Regions from separate parts of the Homo sapiens genome. Here all the other regions are linked to region 6. Evidence: promoter capture Hi-C in 16 types of primary human blood cells and fetal thymus (Javierre and others, 2016). All regions are on one chromosome and are shown on one strand. Each heading gives the region's core, a stretch centred on a gene start or on the middle of the fragment in contact. The rest is flanking DNA. Distances are from core to core; before and after follow the strand shown. Region 1 has its middle 280 kb from the start of LINC01605. Region 2 overlaps BAG4 (BAG cochaperone 4). Region 3 has its middle 330 kb from the start of LINC01605. Region 4 overlaps LSM1 (LSM1 homolog, mRNA degradation associated). Region 5 has its middle 260 kb from the start of LINC01605. Region 6 holds the start of ERLIN2 (ER lipid raft associated 2). Region 7 has its middle 370 kb from the start of LINC01605.

Region 1 (2,700 bases), core at 23-2,522, 420 kb after region 6:
TAGAATCAATAAACAATAGTAAAATAAATAATTTATTTTATTAATAATCAAATCAAATAAATTATTTATTTTATTAGTAATCAAATAAAATTATTTATTTTATTAATAATCAAATAAAATAAATTATTTATTTTATTAATAATCAAATAAAATTATTTATTTTATTAATAATCAAATAATTTATTTTATTAATAATCAAATAAAACAAATAATTTATTTTATTAATAATCAAATAAAATAAATTATTTATTTTATTAATAATCAAATAAAATAAATTATTTATTTTATTAATAATCAAATAAAATAAATTATTTTATTAATAATCAAATAAAATAAATAATTTCTATTAATAATCAAATAAAATAATTTCTTTTATTAATAATCTAATAAAATAAATTTATTAAAGTTCAAAAATTTAATACAATAAAATAAATTATTTTATTAAAGGTAATGGCAAAATCTGCAATTACTTTTGCACCATCCTAATACCTAGTTTACATAGGAAGAAATGACAACTCAGAGAGGTTTAGTTTCTTGTCTAAGCACGTGGGACTTGTCAACAGCAGAACTGAAATCTGACTCCAGATTTGTCCAACCACAAATCCCACATTTCCCACTATATCCAGAAAGGACCCCAAAGGTTGAGTCTGAGCAACTTAACCTGTTCTGATTTTTCAGAAGCCTACAACAGCCATCGGTGGGGATTGGATAGGAAATGCTGGCCGTGGGGTCTTTTGCATCAGGAAAGTCCAGATCTTCTGAGAGGAAGAAGTGGGAGATGATGGGCTAATTGGAGGCTGTGCTTTGGTTTGACTCCCACTCCTGGCCCACATCTGGCTGGTGGAGTTCCCGGGCCTGGACTCTTGGTGCTTAGGCCTACTGTCTTCCCATTTCTTTATGTTGACCTTCAAGTTTGCTGAATAAAATGAGGCACACTTGTCATTAAGTACTTTCCATACATGGCGTGCTCAGAGTGGAATGACCTGGCAGTCCTTGTCTGTTTCCTTCATTGATGTTTATCCTCCAGTTCAGGGCTGTCCAATAGAAATATAATGCAGGCCCCATGTGCAGTTTTAAATTATTTAGGAGCCACATTATAAAAAAGTAAAAATAAAGAAGTGAAATTACTCTGAATAACAAATTTTATTTAACCTGATATATTTAAAATACAAGCAATATGAAAAAAGTAATATAAAAATCAATGAGATATTTTACATTTTTTTTGTGCATAGTATTCAAAATCCAGTGTGCATTTTCCACTTATCGTGTGCCTCATTTCTGACTAGCCACATTGCAAATGCTCCCTGGTCACATGTGCCCAGCGGCTAAGCTCTTTTGAAAGCACAGTAGCTGATCCAGTTACAGGTTCTTCCCCTTGGAGTGGATGTTTCTGATTCCTCTTGACTCAGGAGGGAAGAGCTGAAGGAGCAGACAGGTGTGTCCTCTTGAGCTACTATCCACTTTCCCTGCTGGTCACCATGTATTTCTGGTAGCAAGCATCATGGGGCTGATCCCAACCTTCCCCAGCAAAGAGGAGCTGCAGGGGAGAGAATCTGGGTCTATGTCAACGACTCGTGGCCCTAAGTGTAGGAAGCACTTCCTGGGGGGACTGCAAACTGTGGCCCATGAAAAATGCATCTCTTCCTATTGTGCATTTCTGTTTATACAAAGTTTGACGAAGTTTCTATAATCAGTAAAGGCAATCTCAGCCCTAGGAAACCTGTGCAGCTGGTGAGGTTTGATTTCAATGTTCCCATTTTCCCACTGAGCTTGATTCTCTCCTTTATCCTCAAGGGGCACAGACCCCAGTCCAGTGGGAGGCCCAGCTCCACCATGCTTCGCCACCTGAGGAAATAGAACTTTCTTCTTTATAGCTGCTGTGCTCAGCTAGACACAGAATGTATGCAGAGTCTCCCACTGTTCTTATGTCCAGTTCTTCACTGAGTTTGGCTTGAGACTTTTGGGGAAACAAACCTTTGTTAGGTGATATGGCTTGGCTCTGTGTCCCCACCCAAATCTCATCTTGAATTGTAATCCCCACATGTGGAGGGAGGGACTTGTAATCCCCACGTGTCAAAGAAGGGAGATGATTGGATCACAGGGTTGGTTTTCCCCATGCTGTTCTCATGATAGTGACTGAGCTGTCACGAGATCTGATGGTTTTATAAGGAGCTCTTTCCCCTTCACTTTCTCCTGTGTCTCCTACCGTCATGTAAGACATAACTGCTTCCCTTTCTGTCATGATTTTAAGTTTCTTGAGGCCTTCCCAGCCATGCAGAACTGAGTCAATGAAACCTCTTTCCTTTATAAATTACCCAGTCTCGAGTAGTATCTTTTTTTTTTATTTTTTATTTTTATTTATTTATTTATTTGCAGACAAGGTCTCACTCTGTCTCCCAGGCTGGAGTGCAGTGGTGCGATCTCAGCTCTCTGCAACCTCCGCCTCGCAGGTTCAAGTGATTCTTGTGGCTTAGCTTCCCGTGTAGCTGGGATTAAAGATGCCCACAACAACACCTGGCTAATTTTTGCATTTTTAGTAGAGACGGGGTTTCACCTTGTTGGCCAGGCTGGTCTCAAACTCCTGACCTCAGGTGATCCGGCCGCCTCGGCCTCCCAAAGTCCTGGGATTACAGGTGTGAGCCACTGCACCTGGTCATCGGGTAGTACCTTTACAGCAGTGTGAAAACAGACTAATACACT
Region 2 (2,700 bases), core at 196-2,695, 450 kb before region 6:
GGCTGAGAGGTGAGAGGCAGAGGCAAAGTCCAGAAATTCAAGGTTATGGTGAGCTATGATCTATGATTGTGCTACTGCACTCCAGCCTGGGCAACAGAGTAAGACCCCATCTTTAAAAAGAAAAAACCTACTGACTTGATAACCACACACAGAATATAATTCAAATAATTCTTGAACAGTTTTCTGAATGGACATCTTTAGTGGTACCTTTCTAAAAGCAAAAGAAATTTAAAAATATCTTAAACTCTTCATATAATGTTATTAGTAGTGATATTACTATCTTAATTTTTAAACTATATTGTGTGTATTGTAGAATAGAATAAATACATACAGTAGTGTTATTGGGAACCGATATTGTCACGAGGACAAGGAAAGATAAAATATGGAATGGGGCAAAATGAGGAAGAACTGGGGGATAGTGAATGTGGTGGTGTCATTACAAACTCACATAAGTAAAAAACATAATTTGGCTGGGTGCAGCGGCTCACACCTGTAATCCCAGCACTTTGGGAGGCCAAGGCAGGTGGATCACGAGGTCAGGAGATAGAGACCATCCTAGCTAACACGGTGAAACCCCATCTCTACTAAAAATACAAAAAATTAGCCAGGTGTGGTGGCGGGCGCCTGTAGTCCCAGCTACCTGGGAGGCGGAGCTTGCAGCAAGCCTAGATCACGCCACTGCACTCCAGCCTGGGCAACAGAGGGAGACTCCGTCTCAAAACAACAACAACAACAACAAAACGTAATTTAACCTTTTATGCAAAACAAACAAATATGGATAAAAGTGACAGTGTGCCAGTCCACACAAAGGATTTAGGAGTCGCTGCAAATTCTAGCAACCCTCTTGTGTTCCCATGCCCTCCACAAGACCTACATTATCTTATATGGGAGCTGTGTTTTCAACTGAAGTCCCAGGATGAGAAGACACACAGGTAGACCTGAACTGAACCTGGGGCCTAGAGAAGAACCACTAGAGTGGACTCACAGAACCTGAGCAAGAAATAAATGTTTATCATTATAAGCTACTAAAATTCTGGAATTGTTGTTTCAGTATAGGAAAAGTCAATTAATGCAATAACTAACAATCAAGTTGGTAACATAACCACAGAGAAAAAAGAATTACTTCAAATGACTTTTAGCTCACGTTATTTTGACTGTACGTCCTCAGTGGAATTTATTCTCTAAGGACAAGCTGAACTGCAAAGAAACCGAAACTGCATCCATTAGTTGTTACTCATAAAACTGGTATTCTTATTTTCAAGTTTTACTCACTACCATCCAATTCACCTATTTAAAGTATATAATTCAGGCCTGGCATGGTGGCTTACGTCTGTAATCCCAACACTTTGGGAGGCCGAGGTGGGTGGGTCACTTGAGGTCAGGAGTTCAAGACCGGCCGGGCCCACATGGTGAAACCTCGTCTCTAATAAAATACAAAAATGAGCTGGGTGTGGTGGCGGGCAGCTACTCAGGAGGCTGAGGCACGAGAATTGCTTGAACCCAGGAAGCAGAGGTGTAGTGAACTGAGATTGCACCACTGCACTCCAGCCTGGGCAACAGGGTGAGACTCCATCTCAAAAAAAAAAAAAAAATTAGCCGGGCATGGTGGCACACACCCGTAGTCCTAGCTACTTGGGAGGTTGAGGCAGGAAAATTGCTTGAACCTGGGAGGCGGAGGTTGCAGTGAGCCAAGATCGTGCCACTGCACTCCAGCCTGGGTGACAGAGCAAGGCTCCATCTCAAAGATAAACAAATAAATAAATAAAAAGTAAATAAAAAGCTGATATTAAAGTAGCCACTCCAGCTTTCTCATAGTTGCCTTTTGCATATTTTTATATATATATACATATATATGTATACATGTATATATGTATACATGTATATGTATACATGTATATATGTATACATGTATATATGTATATATATGTGTACATGTATATATATGTATACATGCATATATATATGTGTATACACGTATATATATGTATTTATATGTGCATATATGTAATTTTTAATTAATAAAAGTAGTACATATTTTTGGGATACATGTGATATTTTGATACATGTATATAAAGTGTAATGATCAAAACAGGGTAACTGGCATATCTGACACCTCAAACATTTATCTTTTCTTTATTGCATTATATTTCTTTTTCCATCCATTTACTTTCAAACTATTTGTATCTTTAAACCTTAAGTGTGCCACCTTTAGACACCATATAATTGGATCTTGTTTTTTTTTTAATCCAGTCTGTCTTCTGACTAGATTGCTTAATCCATGCACATTTAATATTATTGATATAGCTGGATTTACATGTTTTATTTTTACTTTTTGTTTTTTATATGTCTCATGTGTTTTTGTCCTTTATTCCACCTTTACTGCTTTCTTTTGCATTAAGTGAATATTTTCAAATGTAGCATTATAACTTAATGATTATACTTTTTTTTTCTTTAGCAGTTACTCTTGGGCTAACAATACACTTCTTCTTCTTCCTTTTTTTTTTTTTTTTTTTTTTGAGACGGAGTCTCACTCTATCACCCAGGCTGGAGTGCAGTGGCACGATCTCGGCTCACTGCAAGCTCCGCCTCCCGGGTTCATGCCATTCTCCTGCCTCAGCCTCCCAAGTAGCTGGGACTACAGGCGCCCGCCACCACGCCCGGCTAATTTTTTTTTTTTTTTTTTTTTGTATTTTTAGTACA
Region 3 (2,700 bases), core at 14-2,513, 470 kb after region 6:
CTATCATTCTATCATCTATCTATCTATCTATCTATCTATCTATCTATCTATCTATCATTTACCTATCATCTGTCTATTTATCATCTATGCTTGACACTGGTGTTTATTACTTTCTTTATACTTGCCTATACTTTCCAAAATTTACAATGAATGTAAAAGTGTATTTTTTTATTACCAGAAAAACTCAATTTATGTATTGTTGCCTGTTTCTATGGTAGAAAGAGGAAGGCAAGACCAAGCTTGAAGGAGAAAATGTGGCATTTGTAGTTCAACAATCCAAGAAGGGAGTAAGACCAAACAGAACCTTCCAGGTGTCATTGCTTCCTGGGTCTCCCTTTAAGCCTGTAGAGGAAGGTGAGCAAGAGAAGAGACAAACATGGGGCAGTGACTTTTCAGAAAGACTCCATGAAGAGGTGATGGAGAAGCCAGGTGGGGAAGTGAGGAGGGACAAGTTCTCACTGGCATTTTGGGTGATGGCCTGGCAAGATGGAGGGCTAAAAGAAGGCCTGGTAGGAAGCCCACAACAGGTTGGGGATGCTTGTTATGCAGTTCTGCCTTTTAATAACCGGCACTTGTATCCTATGATTTAACTTCTAACTTGAATTGAACTTCACTGAGATTTCAATGTAACCATTCCCGCTTGAGCTGTGAAGGTCAGTACAACTTGCCCTGGAATGCCTTTGGCCTTCTTGCTGCCAATACAATCCCATCATACCTCCAAGGTGCAGGCTTGACCTCGCTTCCTCCAAACACCAGCCCTCTTTCTCTTCTGAACACCTGTAGCACTTGCCCCTTAGCTGCACCCCTCACATACCACCTCTGACTGCACAGATAGACAGAATAGACCTAGCTCTCAATTTATTTGCTACCTTCATGGAGATGTATCTGATACACCCTGTTAACTACATCATAAGGCTTGGGAGAGCTGCCACTCTGTCTTGTACTGTACCTCTTTGTGCTTTCATACAGGCCCTCTCGAGCAACGGAGTCTCAAAACCAGAAGGCTGTTTCAAGGTGATTCCTACATACCTTGCATTTGATAGGCTGTGAAACAGTCAGAGAAAGAATTGGACTTGTCCAGAGTCCCCTCATGATAAATGAGAAGCAATTCACTCATTCAACGAATACTTAGTGAGCCCATGTCTTCTGTCTTCAAGATCAGGGCACTCAGTAAACACTTGTTTGTTTGTTGATTGAATGGATGATATATTGACTACATCCCTAAAGTGGAACTCTAGATTTAACTGTAATAAATGTTTTTAGCACCGATTCTTTGCCAGACACCATATATGCATCACCATGTCTTTATTTCTCACATCCATCCTATGACACAGCTTTAATCCTTTATTTTTATAGATGAGAAGACTAACTGAGGGGAATTAACAACTTGAGTATGACTGCACAGATAGACAGAATAGACCTAGCTCTCAAATTCATTCATTGCTCTTGCCCCTACCCTAAATCTCAGACAGCTCCTGCACTGGAAGTCAGATGTGCTGGTGGAGTCATCCAGGGCGATTCTGCTTTCAATGTCAAATACTGTCTATTTTTCAGGCATCCAGGAAAGCTGTGGCCCAAATTATCCACAACTTAATGTCCTGTTATGAGCTGACTTTAAGATCATTTTCTTCTCATACAAGGAGACCTGGCATTTTGTTTTGGGGGTAGGAAATAGGTGAGGCCTGTTTTTCTGTGGTGGCTTTGCACCTTTGGCAATTAGGTCTGCAGTATGAAAAACAACAGCAGTCAGCCTGTGCTGGGAGAGAGAAAGAGAAAATTCTATCATGTCAGAATAATGAGATCTGTGATTTCAGCACTTACTGGGTCAAAGACACACACAATGTGTTATCCGTAATGCTTTTCTCCTGACATTTGGGGAAATTGCATTTATGCAGAGGACACGGGACGCTGGAACGTGGCACTCCACGGATGCCACTCAGAGTTGACAGACTGCAGTCTCCTTGCCAGAGGCTGGGCTTGATATCCCTCTAGGAGGAGTGAGCCACGGTCCAGTCCAGCCAGGGTGACAGTGGGGATCCTCCTGACTCCTGAGACCCTGCTATGCCCACTGCTGCTCCAGCTATAAGGAAATAGCCCAGAATCATGCACATAGAGCTTGCTGGTTAGCTCAGTGAACAGAGACACTCAGTGACTTCTTGAGCATCCTTTGCATGCAGAATGAAGTCCTTTTCCAACCCAACATCTTCTAGACCCCTTTCAGCTTCCAGTCTTTCCCAGCACACCCGATGTTTGGGACAGCCCTGGGCTTCTCTTGGAGGAAGCTTAGTTTCTGTTTCAGCCTTCTTCTTCATTCTCCAGTTCCTGCACACAGAGGCCCATGAGCACCAAAGGAGTATGGCTTGTTTCTCTGAGGCTGATTCGGAGGCAGGGAGTTTATCGCTCTCTCTTATGTGCTCCTCCATCCTTCCTCCTGTCTCGCCACTCTCTTTATCTGCAGTGGCAATGATGAAGTGATTGATTGTCCAGCCTCAGATGTCTTGTGTAGTTTTAAATTAACTCCTGGTACACAACAACAGGCAGACTGAGGGGGAGGTGCACACATGTGAACGCGCGCACACACACACACACAGAGAAAACCACAACAGGGAGAGATTCTCTTGCTTGATGATGGTGGTCAAATTCCTCTCCTGGACATAATACTTCAAAGGATTCTTCTTTCTGCTCTCAATCAGAACTGTT
Region 4 (2,700 bases), core at 105-2,604, 430 kb before region 6:
AATTGGAGTCCTGATTCTTAAGTCAGATTCATCAGAGTACTTTGAGGGAAGGGTAGTGGCTATTAAGTTGACTTTTAGATTACAAATATAGTTATCTGTCAAGGTGAAAAAATAGGTTTTTGCTGTATCATAACCCATGGATACCTGCGTTGGGTCAAATGAATCCTAATTACTAAAAGAAAGTTGAATCTTCAGCAGATCATCACATACACACCCACACAAAAAGAAAAGCTGTTTCTTTCCAGAAAACAAAAGTTTTGATCTCTGTGGTTGTTTAGGCCCAAGTTTTCCAAGTTCCTTATTCATTTATATTTTCCTATGGTTTTTTTTGGTATTAGCAATTAACTGATAAAGGAATTTATTTCTCTTATTTCTGCTGTCATTCATGTATTAGCCCAACATAATCCCAGACATCTCCTAACTGGTACGTCTTACTCAATGAAATAGGAGAAGATTATTTGAAATTTTAGCCTTCCCCAGAATTAGAAAGCTTGGGGGCCCGGCACTGTGGCTCACGCCTGTAATCCCAGCACTTTGGAAGGCCGAGGTGGGCGGATCACAAGGCCAGGAGTTCAAGACCAGCCTGGCCAATGTGGTGATCCCTGTCTCTGCTAAAAATACAGAATTAGCCGGGAGTGGTGGCAGGCACCTGTAGTCCCAGCTACTCCGGAATCTGAGGCAGGAGAATTGCTTGAACCAGTAGGCAGAGGTTGCAGTGAGCTGAGATGGCGCCACTGCAGTCCAGCCTGGGTGACAGAGCGAGACTCGGTCTCAAAAAATAAATAAATAAAAATAATTAGAAAGCTTGGAAATCATGTTTACCTAAATCTTTTCAAAATAACTGATTATTGAGTTATGGGCCTTTACCCAGTAGTTTAAACTAAATATCTTTGGTTTTTCCCTATACACTTACAGCAAACTTAGTGCTACATCAGACTGTGGAGCGTATTCATGTGGGCAAAAAATACGGTGATATTCCTCGAGGGATTTTTGTGGTCAGAGGAGAAAATGTGGTCCTACTAGGAGAAATAGTAAGTGAAAACTATTAAGCTGCTGTAGATCTTCATATTCATGCTAGTTAGACTTCTTTTTTTGTCTTTTCAAAAGAGAATAAAAATATTCTCCACATTTATCTGGCTTCTCCTAGGCAACTACCAAATTAATTTAGGGAAGCTACAGAGAATACTTTGTTTCAGTGCCTTAACAAATGTGTTCATTAATATATTTGTTTAATAGCAGAAAATTGACAAAGCTTGATTTATATATGCTGGGGAAGGTGTGTCTTACATACGTTGGAATATTTTGCAGTCATTTAAACAATTGGTTACAAGTGGTTTTTCATGGCATAAAGCTAATGCACAGTATTTCAGGGAAGTACATATTGCCTGTACAGTACAATGTGATATCCATATTAGTAAAGGGGGAAAGGGAAAGAGTAGCTATAGGAAAAGCTTTTCCGTTACCTATCCCGAGAATGGAGTTCAGTCTTACTTGGATCCTTAGCTCACAGCCAGGGAGAGGGTATTTTGGTATCTGTGCCAGAAAGACCAGCTGGCAGGTGAAAGGTTAAATCAGATTTTCTGAGGTATTGTTGCTGTAGGTCTTCGTGTGTGCAGACATACACACACACACCCCTACTAGAAGTACTCAGATTTTTTTTTAAAGTATCTTATTTAAAACCTTTGATTTCATCTTGTTATTTCTGATTATTGGGTTTGCAAGGAAAATAAAAATCTCTTCAAGAGTAGTTGAAATTAAGGGTTGAGCCAGCACTGTCTTCTTTTTTCTTACCAAAAACTTTGGTGTTTGCTTAATTTTTAAAGTTTTTAATACTGTTTTCTAAATACCTAGCCATGTCTTAAATCAGTTTGCAGAAATCTTTAGAGTGGTTTGGTTTGTAGCCATTTTTAACAGCCATTTGAGAAAGCAAGGAGATAATTCTGCTAGGGTTGGGTTGGTTCAGAGACCTCATATTGGAAATAGCTAGAAATGACTAATCCAGACTATCAATACTGCCCAAGTGAAATATATGAAGTATATGAAATATATGAATATATGAAATATATGCTGTGAAATATATGAAATAGCTTTTTCTTACTTATAAAATATTTATAAGTAATACTTATAAAAATTTTTCTTATAAAATATTTTTGTAGTTTGTACTTTTAGTTCAGTGTATCATTTCTTGCATGTTTAAGCAGCAGAAATTGTTTTTTGTTTTTTGGGTTTTTTTTTTTTTTTGGGACAGAGTTTTGCTCCTGTTGCCCAGGCTGGAGTGCAATGGCATGATCTCAGCTCACTGCAACTTCCGCCTCCCAGGTTCAAGTGATTCTCCTGCCTCAGCCTCCCGAGTAGCTGGGATTACAGGTGCCCGCAACCAAGCCCAGCTAATTTTTGTATTTTTAGTAGAGACGGGGTTTCACTATGTTGGCCAGGCTGGTCTCGAACTCCTGACCTCAGGCGATCTACCCGCCTCGGCCTCCCAGTGTGCTGGGATTACAGGCATGAGCCACCGCGCCCAGCCAAGCAGCAGAAATTGTTATCTTCTTGTGTCGCATAAAGGCTGAAACAAGGCCAGGTGCGGTGCCTCACGCCTGTAATCCCAGCACTTCGGGAGGCTGAGGCGGGCGGATCACAAGGTCAGGAGATCGAGACCATCCTGGCTAACACAGTGAAACCCCATCCCTATTAAAATACAAA
Region 5 (2,700 bases), core at 123-2,622, 400 kb after region 6:
TATACCAACGGCAAGACTTTCAACCTTCTCTTGGTCTTAATCTTTCTGAGTGTGTCTCCCTTCATTGTCTCTTCTAATAAATAAATTAGAAAATATGTCTAGAAAACAGTTATGGAAAATATGTCTAGAAAATAATATTAGAAAATAATAATAGACATACTACAAAATATAATAGAAATGTCTTGAAAATAATATTAGAAAATGACAATGAACATTTTTATCTATTGTGATGTAATAAGTTACCCCAAAACTTAGTGACTTAAAACAAATCACATTTATTATCTCATAGTTTCTGTGAGTCAGGAACCTGGCCATCACTTAGCCGGGCTCTCTGCTTCTGGGTTGGCCGTGAGGCTGTAGTCAAGGTGATGGCTGGGCCTGCAGTCATCTCCAAGCTTAACTGGGGGTGGATTGACTTCCAAGCTCATCAAGAGGTTATTGGCAGGGTTCAGTCCCTGTGGACCTCAGTTTCTCAGTGGCTGCAGGCTGGAGGCTGCCCTCCTTGCTATGTGAGCTTCTCAGTAGGGCAGCTCACCACATGGTGGCTTGCTTCATCAAAGAGAGAGAGAGAGAGAGAGAGCAAGTGAATATGAGACAGAACTCACAGCCTTTTGTAATCTAATCTCTGAAGAGACAACCCATCACTTTTGCTGTATTCTGTTCATTAGAAGTGAGTCACTAGATCCATATCACACTCAAGGGGGAGAGATTTTACAAGGAAGTGCATACCAGGAGGTGAAGATCAGTAGGCGTCCTCTTAGAAGTCTGCCTACCACAGGCCTCCTTTGTAGAGAAGCCTTCAGGGCCAGACCTGATCTCTAATAACTTCATTTGCTGGTTTCTATTTTGAAATTGGTAGTCCTACTTAGAACTTTGTGATAGCAGTTGTGAGGGTGTTATCTCAATAAAGCCTCTAGCCAACTGGCTTTACAATGGAGCAACTGGAATGAAATCTCAGTAATACATCAGTAATGTCCAAGATTGGCTAGAATGAATGAAAATGGGTATGCGTCAGCATTGGGTAAACCTTCAATTCCTTTTTCTTTCCTTAACTCAATTTGCTCTGATGATATACAAAACCATAGGCCAAACTTTTTAAAAACAGCGACAGGGAATTTCTTGTCCCTGTACCACTACCCCCTGCAAAGGTAGGTAGTCTGAATCCAGGAGCATGGGTACTGATGCCAGCTCTTGGGTCTCAGGTGGTGGTGACTGCAGACAGAGAAGACATGCTCTGATCAGCTTGGCCCAGCAGATATTCCCATGGGGACAAGTCCAGCGTGCCTTGAAATAAGAGCCTGTTGCAGGCCAGGAGTGTGGGGTCCCACACACCCTGATGCACACCATCAATTTGGAAAGTCCTTTTTATTTTCATTCTTTTAAATGCTTCTGTTGGCTGTTTGTTTTATGAGGAGTTAGTTTCATTAGTGCTACTGAGTCCATGTGTTCACCCACCACACTCGAGCCTTGCATTGATATCACTCTTTCCCCTCAATGTACCAGGCCCTGCAGAGAACACGTGAAGTCCTCACGGCCTGTCCTGACTGGCATGGGACTAGCAAGTTCGTGAAGACTTCCCTGTGTCCGTGTCTCTCTCTTATTTAAAAGCCACGATGTCTCCCTGTGTGTCTGCAGGAGATGCCAAGGTCTTCACAGTCCGGCCCTAGTCTGCCTCTCTGAGACTCTCCAGCTGCCTGGCTGGACCTTCTGTCTACACAACAGCTAGAATCCCATGCCATCTGAAGGTGTTGAAACAAATCATGCACTTCCCAGGCTTTGTTGCTTTGTTCACACTTTCCCTTTACTTTGGAACAAATGTCCTCCCTCCCTGATGCCCTCTGCACATCTCTGCCTAGCCATCACTGGTGCATCTGCCAAGGCCCAGCTCAAATGTCCACACTCCTTTGGAGCCTCCTGACCTCCTCCTCACTTTAGGTGGAACACACGTGTCTATAGCAGCTGTCATGGGTGCTGCACCCGAGTCCCTGTGGCATTTACAATGTTTGCACTGGCAGTGTGACTTCTAACGGCCAGCACCAGCTACTCTACCTGAAGGCTTTCTCTGTCTGCTCACTCTGCCCTTGCATGGGACAGGTTGAAAATGTTGTGGGTTACCTCCCTAGGAGACCCCTCTACCAATGACTGTTGGTTCCCCACCCCTGGACAGGATATTTCTGAGGCAAGATAGCCCAGAGAGGTCTCCCGTGGAGCTGAGCTCCCCCATCTGGTGTAGCAACTGGTGACAATGAACCCTGCCTGGCTTCCTTCCCTCCCCTGGGTCACTTTGTCACTCCGCTATCAGTGGTTTTTCAGTTTACTTCGAATGATCTATTTGTACCTGAAGCTTTGCTTTGGAGTCTGTTTCTGGGGAACACACACTGAAAACAGAGCCCCTCCTCCGTGCTTACGCTCACTGTACACATTTATTACAGCCCTTACATTGCACTTGTGGGTATCCAGCATCGGGCTCCTGCACAGTGACCTCCTTGAGGGCAGAAACTCTGCCTCTCCAAGGCCTGGTGCAGTGCTGGGCATACATCCGGTGCCCATACTTTTGTTGAGTTGATTCTCTTGTGCTCATTTCCCTAATTAAAGGTTTTTTTTTTTTTTTTGTAAGTTTTCATGGGGGCTGGTTAGAGCTTAGGACCTCATCTTGCACTAAAGAATGAGGTGATCCAACCGTCTTGGCAACCACTGCTC
Region 6 (2,700 bases), core at 170-2,669:
GCTTCTCCCTGTCTCTGCCTTACCTGTAATATACCCCAATATGTCCCTCTTCTATCTTGTGCACAGCTGAGAAGAGAGATGCACAAAAGAAACTGGAAGCCACAGCCACAACTGCTCCCAACTGAGCCATCAGTGAGCCTTTATCCTAGGGAAAAGACACGGGAAAATGTGTGTGGTCCAACGTGCAGGAGAAAAGGCCACAACAGCGAGAGGACCTCACCAAGCTGAGCTCCCTGCGAGTGACTCATATCCAGCCTGGTGTCGTGTGAACACAAGGCTAGATCTACAACTCGCTTCCTCCTCGTTCTCAGTCAACGTTCCCCTTTCTTTAACTGTAAAATTAGAGCCCCCACCGCACTGAGGAAGCACTGGCTCCGGATACAGCCGTTGCTCAAGGGAGAACCCGTGCCAGCTGGGTAGGGTTCAGAACACAGCCTTGTCTTCCTGTGAACACGAATGTGCTGTCACTGAACCTTTCCTACCAGTAGTAGGGAAGAGAGGCAGCTGCAGTACTTTGGCCCAAATTACAGAGGATGCCAAATGACAGGCAGTTGTGGCTATGTAATTCTGGTCAGAGTCTCCCACTCCTAATTGCCTGCAGTTTCAAAGGAAACCATTATTTACTCCTTTCAGATGCTGGAGTGGCAGAGCCAGCAGGCGAGCAGAGTTTCAAGGTAGGATTCGTTGGCCTCGCATCCACCTTCCCAGTTATTCCTTTGGCCCTAAACAGGACAGGGCTCTGAACAAGCCTGAAGCCACACTCCCCCCCATATACTTTGGCACTTTGCACCTGACAGATCCCCAAGCCCGTGGTCAGAGAGAAAGGCAATGTCCCAAACTGCGAGCCTCTAGGCTCCTAGGTCCAACCGCGTTCAGGCACCAGGACGCGGAGGAGTGGGATCCTGAACGCTGAATGATCTGGAACTATGGTGACTGACTGCAAAGTTCAGCTGTGCGTGCGTGGGCCCGTGAGCGCAGGGCGTGGATTCTGCCTCCCAGGTCTAACGTAACCGGGGCGCGGACATCTGCGAGGCGCTTATTTTACCGTGGCGGCCTCCGGCTACCGATCTGCAGTTGCGTCCTTTCCTGCCAGTGCCCTTCCCTCCCCGAGGTCACTCGCGCCCCTTCCCCGCCCCGTTCCGAGAGAGGGTCAAGCGCCCTGGTCTGGGGCTGCGGCTCCAATAGCCTCCGCTCGGTCCCCCTGCGGCTCGCAAGGAGAGGACGCGACAGAAAAGGGTTTCTGTCTCTCTCCAGGAGCGGGCCGGCTGAGGGAGAGAAGCTGCTGGGACTGAGGTTCCCGAAAGTGACGGGTCAGCCCCGACCCTGAGCGGCAGCTAGGCCCAGCGCGCGCACGAAGGGGCGGGGGCCGCGTACCAGGCTGTCCCTGCAGGCGCTCCGTACTCGTCCGAGCCCACGAGCAAGAAAACCGTCACACCCCTCAGCACGCGACTTCCTTCCGGGCCGTCGCTTCGATGACGCCATCAATTCACGCGAGAAGACCACACCCCCGCCCCGCGCTCGCTCTGCGCCCCGCCCCTCGCGCTCCCAGCGGTCAATGGCCGTAGCTGGCCGCCAGGGATCGCCCGCGACTTGGTCGGTGCGGTCCTGGACCTCGGTCTTGGGTATCCGTCCTGGGGCTGGGGATGAGGGCGGTGTTGGTGGGAGCTCCCCGAGAGCGAGCGGCAGGACGCGCATGCCCCGGAGTACTGAGACCCAGGGCGAACCTTTCCAAGGCGTTGACTTTGGGGATTGCTCCGGATTTCCTTCTGCATTAGGCCGAACCTGGTTCGTTTTGGTTTTTTTAGAGACAAGGTCTCGCTCTTTTGCCCAGGCTGGAGTGCAGTGGCACGATCATAGCTCACTACAGCCTCGAACTCCTGGGCTTAAGCGATCCTCCCACCTCACCCTGCTGAGTAGCTGGGACCACAGGCGCACGCCACGACACTTGACAATTTTATTTTTAGTAAAGACAGGGTCTTGGTATTTCTGGTCTCAAACTCTGGCTTCAAGCAATCCTCCTGCCTCGGCCTCCCAAACTGCTGGGATTACAGGCATGAGCCACCATGCGCGGCCTTTTTTTTTTTCTCTCCTTGATAAGGTACTGGCGAGTTGCAACTGTTTGCTTTCCTATAGCACAGCTGAAATGAAACAGTCTTTTCAATGTACAGATTAGCATCATTACCTCACCAATCAAAAATCCCTACCTTGAGTTGTTCTTTATATTTTTCTGGGAGCTTTGGCCCTTGGGATCCTGCAACGCCACAAAGTATATTAACAAGGAATTATTATTCTAATTTTAATGAACGGAATCTAAGAAGTTCAGCGAGGTTCAAGGGTAAAAGCCAAGGAAAGTTTCCTTTGTGTTTCCTTAATATCTTGAGTTCACTGCTTTTTAAACTCCTGCCACAGTGCACAGGGGCTAGTGCACTTCGTCTTTCTAGATAAACTGTACGTTCCCGGGAGAGCAGAGACTGACTTTCCTTCCGCACCCCCGGGGCTTAGGTGCCCAGTAAAAACAGACTGAAGGCAACGTGGGACCAGGCCCGGAATCCAGAGTTTGTGTCTCCTAGTCTAAGGGCCTCACGTTGTCCTCCACCTGCCCTATTCACCAGCATCACATTGGGGCATTTCTAATTCAGCCACTGAGGTTATTAATATTTTGTTTGCAGGAGAGAAAGAGTCCACTTAATTATAGCCTTC
Region 7 (2,700 bases), core at 42-2,541, 510 kb after region 6:
AAAAATCAGAACACCCAAAACGAAGTGTATTTTCTGGGAATCAATGACTCTTTAGCCTGCGGCAGGCCATTTCATGCTAAATGAGACTCTGTTTCCCACTATGCACTAAGAAAGGGATATGAGGTTTGTGATGAAAAATGACATGCCTGCATCCAGCAATGAGTCCACAAGGCCTACATTGCTGTATCAATTGTAGAAAAACCAAGCAACACTCCCCTTCTGACCTTCCTCCCATCCCCAGCTTTTTAAAAGATGTAGTCAAATAACTCTTGGATAGAAGACTCTGCAGACTAAAATAGCCATTGTAAGTCAAATGTGCTGGGGTCTTTTTCTGTTCCCCCTTTTTTTCTTTCTTCTTTCTCTTCCTTTCCTTTTTTCTCCTTCCCTCCTTCCCTCCCTCCCTTTCTTCCTTCCTCTCTCCTTTCTCTCACCCTCCCTCCCTTCTTTCTTTCCTTTCTTCCTCCCTCTCTCCTTTCTCCTTCCCTTCCTCTCTCCCTCCCTTTCCTCCTCTCCTCTCCTCTCCTTTCTCCCCCCCACCTCCTTCCTCCCTTCCTTCCTTCTTTCCTCCTTTCTTCCCTTCCTCTCTTCCTCTCTTCTTTCCTCTCTTCCTTCCTTCCTCTCTTATTCCTTGGTCTTTCATTTTTGTTTCTTTAAATAGCTTTAGGTTTATAGAGTTGAATTAATTCTGTTTCTTAGTATGCCACTCAGCACTGTGTTTTTTATTATGTAAATTGTTATTGTAATATAATACACATAAAGAAAATTGCCCAAATTCAAAGGGCACAGCTCAGTGAATTTTCACAAAGTTAAGAAAGTTCACCAGCAACTAGATAAAGAACCAGAGTATGATCTGAACCCCAGACCACTCCTCCATCCCCTTCTAATTGGAGACTTTCGCCTGCCAACGGAAACCATGATTCTAGGTTTTAACATTATAGATTAATTTTGCCTGCTTTTGAATTCCACAGAAATAAAATTTTGCTTTTGCTATCTTTGCTATTTGACGTATCTCACTGAACATTATATTTGTGAGATTAATTCAAACTGTTTATTTATTCTCATTGCAGTGTAGTATTCAATTGTATGAATATACCAAAATGTATTTATTCATTCTATTCTTGATAAGTATGTGAGTTGTTTCTAGTTTAGGGCAATTATAATGAGTGTTGCTATGAACAATGTTACAGATTCTTGTGGTGGACACACATGTTGAGTACATACCTGGGAGTGCAATTGTTGTTAAATATCACCAAAATGTTTTCAAAGTGATACCACCAGAACTTGGCATTGTCTGTGTTGATCATTTTGGTTGATCCAGTTGTTCTCTGCAGGAGTGTGCCCTGTCCCTAACTGCTCTATTCCATCCAGAAGTGAGAGTCAACACTTTGTATTAAAAGATTTGTTTGTATTACTGTGTACCTAAAGTCCATTGCTCTTAACTGATGCACAGTATTCCACAGTAGGTATACATTCATCACTTCAGTCCAATTCCCGAACGGTGAACTCTTTAAGTTGTCCGAAATTTCCTGCTGCTTTTTACTTATATGATTAAAATGCAGAAGAACTACCGGATTTTAGGGTACATGCATTTTTACTTTTGCTAAATACTGCCATATTGTTCTCCATAATAGATGCCAGTGTTACATGTCCACCAAAAATGCACGAGGGTTTGTGTGTCTCCATATCTTTCCAACATTGATTACCCAATTTTTAAATTTTGGACATTTGGGTGGTCAAAAAGTGGTCTCTCGCTGTTATTTTAGTTTACAGTCATCTGATTGTTATCCGACACAGTTATCTGACTATCTCTGTATATGCCAGCCATTGGGAGTTCCCCTCTGTGAATTGCCTACTTAAACCCTTTTCCATTTGCATATTGGGTTCCTATATTCTAGTTGATTTGTGAAAATTGCTGGTATATTCTAGGGAATAACTTGTTTCCTAGCTTTTAACATCGAACATTTATCCTTTCCCCTCCCTATTTCTTATTTTGTCTATAACATTTTTCATGAAATAGAAATATTGCACTTGAATTCAGAAAATATTTTTACATTATGATTTGTGTGTTTGGAGCCTTATTTTAAAATAAGGCTCACCCCACATCGCAAACAATGTTCTCTTTTATTTAAAAATTATATTTGTAGTTCCATCTTTCCTATTTAGATCTTTACTTTATATAGATATTTTATTGTATCTAACAGCTTCTTTCCATGCATAGAGTGTAGTAATTTCCCAATAACATCTATTTAAAAATCCATTTTTTCCCACTGGTTTGCGGTAACATTCTCGGATATACTGTGTTTCTGTGTGCACATAAGCATTTTTTTGAACCCTTTATTGCTTCCCAGGATTCTATTGGCCTATTGTTTCTATTGTAACACATATTTTAAATGTTCTTTTTGTTATCAAAACTGACTTAGCTATCTATGAACTCTTATTTTTCTACAGAGTTTAAAAATAAGGCTATTTCTTTGACAACAGTTCTGCTGAAATATTATTTGAGGTTGCTTTGAATTTAGATTAATTTGGTTAAAACTGGTATTGTTATAATATTAATCACTCTATCCATGAAAAATGGGATGCCTTTTCCCTTTTCTCATGTTCCCAATAATCCTTTTCTTTTCCTTAACAAAGCTTATAAAGTTTTTCTTTGTAAGATCATGTACAGCTTTTGTTGATGTCTCCTAGATATTTTGTTAT

What was found. Contacts are between HindIII fragments. The CHiCAGO score rates a contact against its expected background, and 5 or more counts as called.
Region 1: a contact is called between a fragment that was not itself captured here and the fragment with the promoter of ERLIN2 in region 6, in 1 of 17 cell types (M2 macrophages). The highest score is 6.2, in M2 macrophages.
Region 2: a fragment that was not itself captured here is called in contact with the fragment with the promoter of ERLIN2 in region 6 in 1 of 17 cell types (neutrophils); the score reaches 5.7 in neutrophils.
Region 3: a contact is called between a fragment that was not itself captured here and the fragment with the promoter of ERLIN2 in region 6, in 2 of 17 cell types (naive CD4 T cells and non-activated CD4 T cells). The highest score is 5.5, in naive CD4 T cells.
Region 4: a contact is called between a fragment that was not itself captured here and the fragment with the promoter of ERLIN2 in region 6, in 3 of 17 cell types (activated CD4 T cells, neutrophils and total B cells). The highest score is 5.9, in activated CD4 T cells.
Region 5: a contact is called between a fragment that was not itself captured here and the fragment with the promoter of ERLIN2 in region 6, in 3 of 17 cell types (M0 macrophages, M2 macrophages and M1 macrophages). The highest score is 5.7, in M0 macrophages.
Region 7: a contact is called between a fragment that was not itself captured here and the fragment with the promoter of ERLIN2 in region 6, in 2 of 17 cell types (M2 macrophages and M0 macrophages). The highest score is 5.3, in M2 macrophages.

What each region holds. Positions count from the first base shown.
Region 1 is chr8:37,314,859-37,317,558 of GRCh38, reverse strand. No RefSeq gene overlaps it. Among named protein-coding and RNA genes, the nearest start is that of LINC01605, 280 kb to the left of the region's middle. The HindIII fragment of the contact is 3,626 bases long and covers 1-2,700 here.
Region 2 is chr8:38,187,853-38,190,552 of GRCh38, reverse strand. All of the region lies in intron 1 of BAG4 (BAG cochaperone 4), which reads right to left. Among named protein-coding and RNA genes, the nearest start is that of BAG4, 12 kb to the right of the region's middle. The HindIII fragment of the contact is 4,700 bases long and covers 1-2,700 here.
Region 3 is chr8:37,269,967-37,272,666 of GRCh38, reverse strand. No RefSeq gene overlaps it. Among named protein-coding and RNA genes, the nearest start is that of LINC01605, 330 kb to the left of the region's middle. The HindIII fragment of the contact is 2,043 bases long and covers 242-2,284 here.
Region 4 is chr8:38,168,133-38,170,832 of GRCh38, reverse strand. LSM1 (LSM1 homolog, mRNA degradation associated) reads left to right here. Exons shown (of 4, transcript NM_014462.3): 3 at 916-1,031. Among named protein-coding and RNA genes, the nearest start is that of LSM1, 7.0 kb to the left of the region's middle. The HindIII fragment of the contact is 199 bases long and covers 1,255-1,453 here.
Region 5 is chr8:37,334,812-37,337,511 of GRCh38, reverse strand. No RefSeq gene overlaps it. Among named protein-coding and RNA genes, the nearest start is that of LINC01605, 260 kb to the left of the region's middle. The HindIII fragment of the contact is 1,949 bases long and covers 398-2,346 here.
Region 6 is chr8:37,735,353-37,738,052 of GRCh38, reverse strand. It overlaps ERLIN2 (ER lipid raft associated 2), which reads right to left and starts at 1,419. Exons shown (of 12, transcript NM_007175.8): 1 at 1,375-1,419; 2 at 24-145. The coding sequence starts at 130. It overlaps LOC102723701 (a long non-coding RNA gene), which reads left to right and starts at 627. Exons shown (of 2, transcript NR_125821.1): 1 at 627-674; 2 at 1,255-2,700. RefSeq lists enhancers at 65-857, 1,337-1,546. The HindIII fragment of the contact is 8,102 bases long and covers 1-2,700 here.
Region 7 is chr8:37,229,403-37,232,102 of GRCh38, reverse strand. No RefSeq gene overlaps it. Among named protein-coding and RNA genes, the nearest start is that of LINC01605, 370 kb to the left of the region's middle. The HindIII fragment of the contact is 2,690 bases long and covers 1-2,636 here.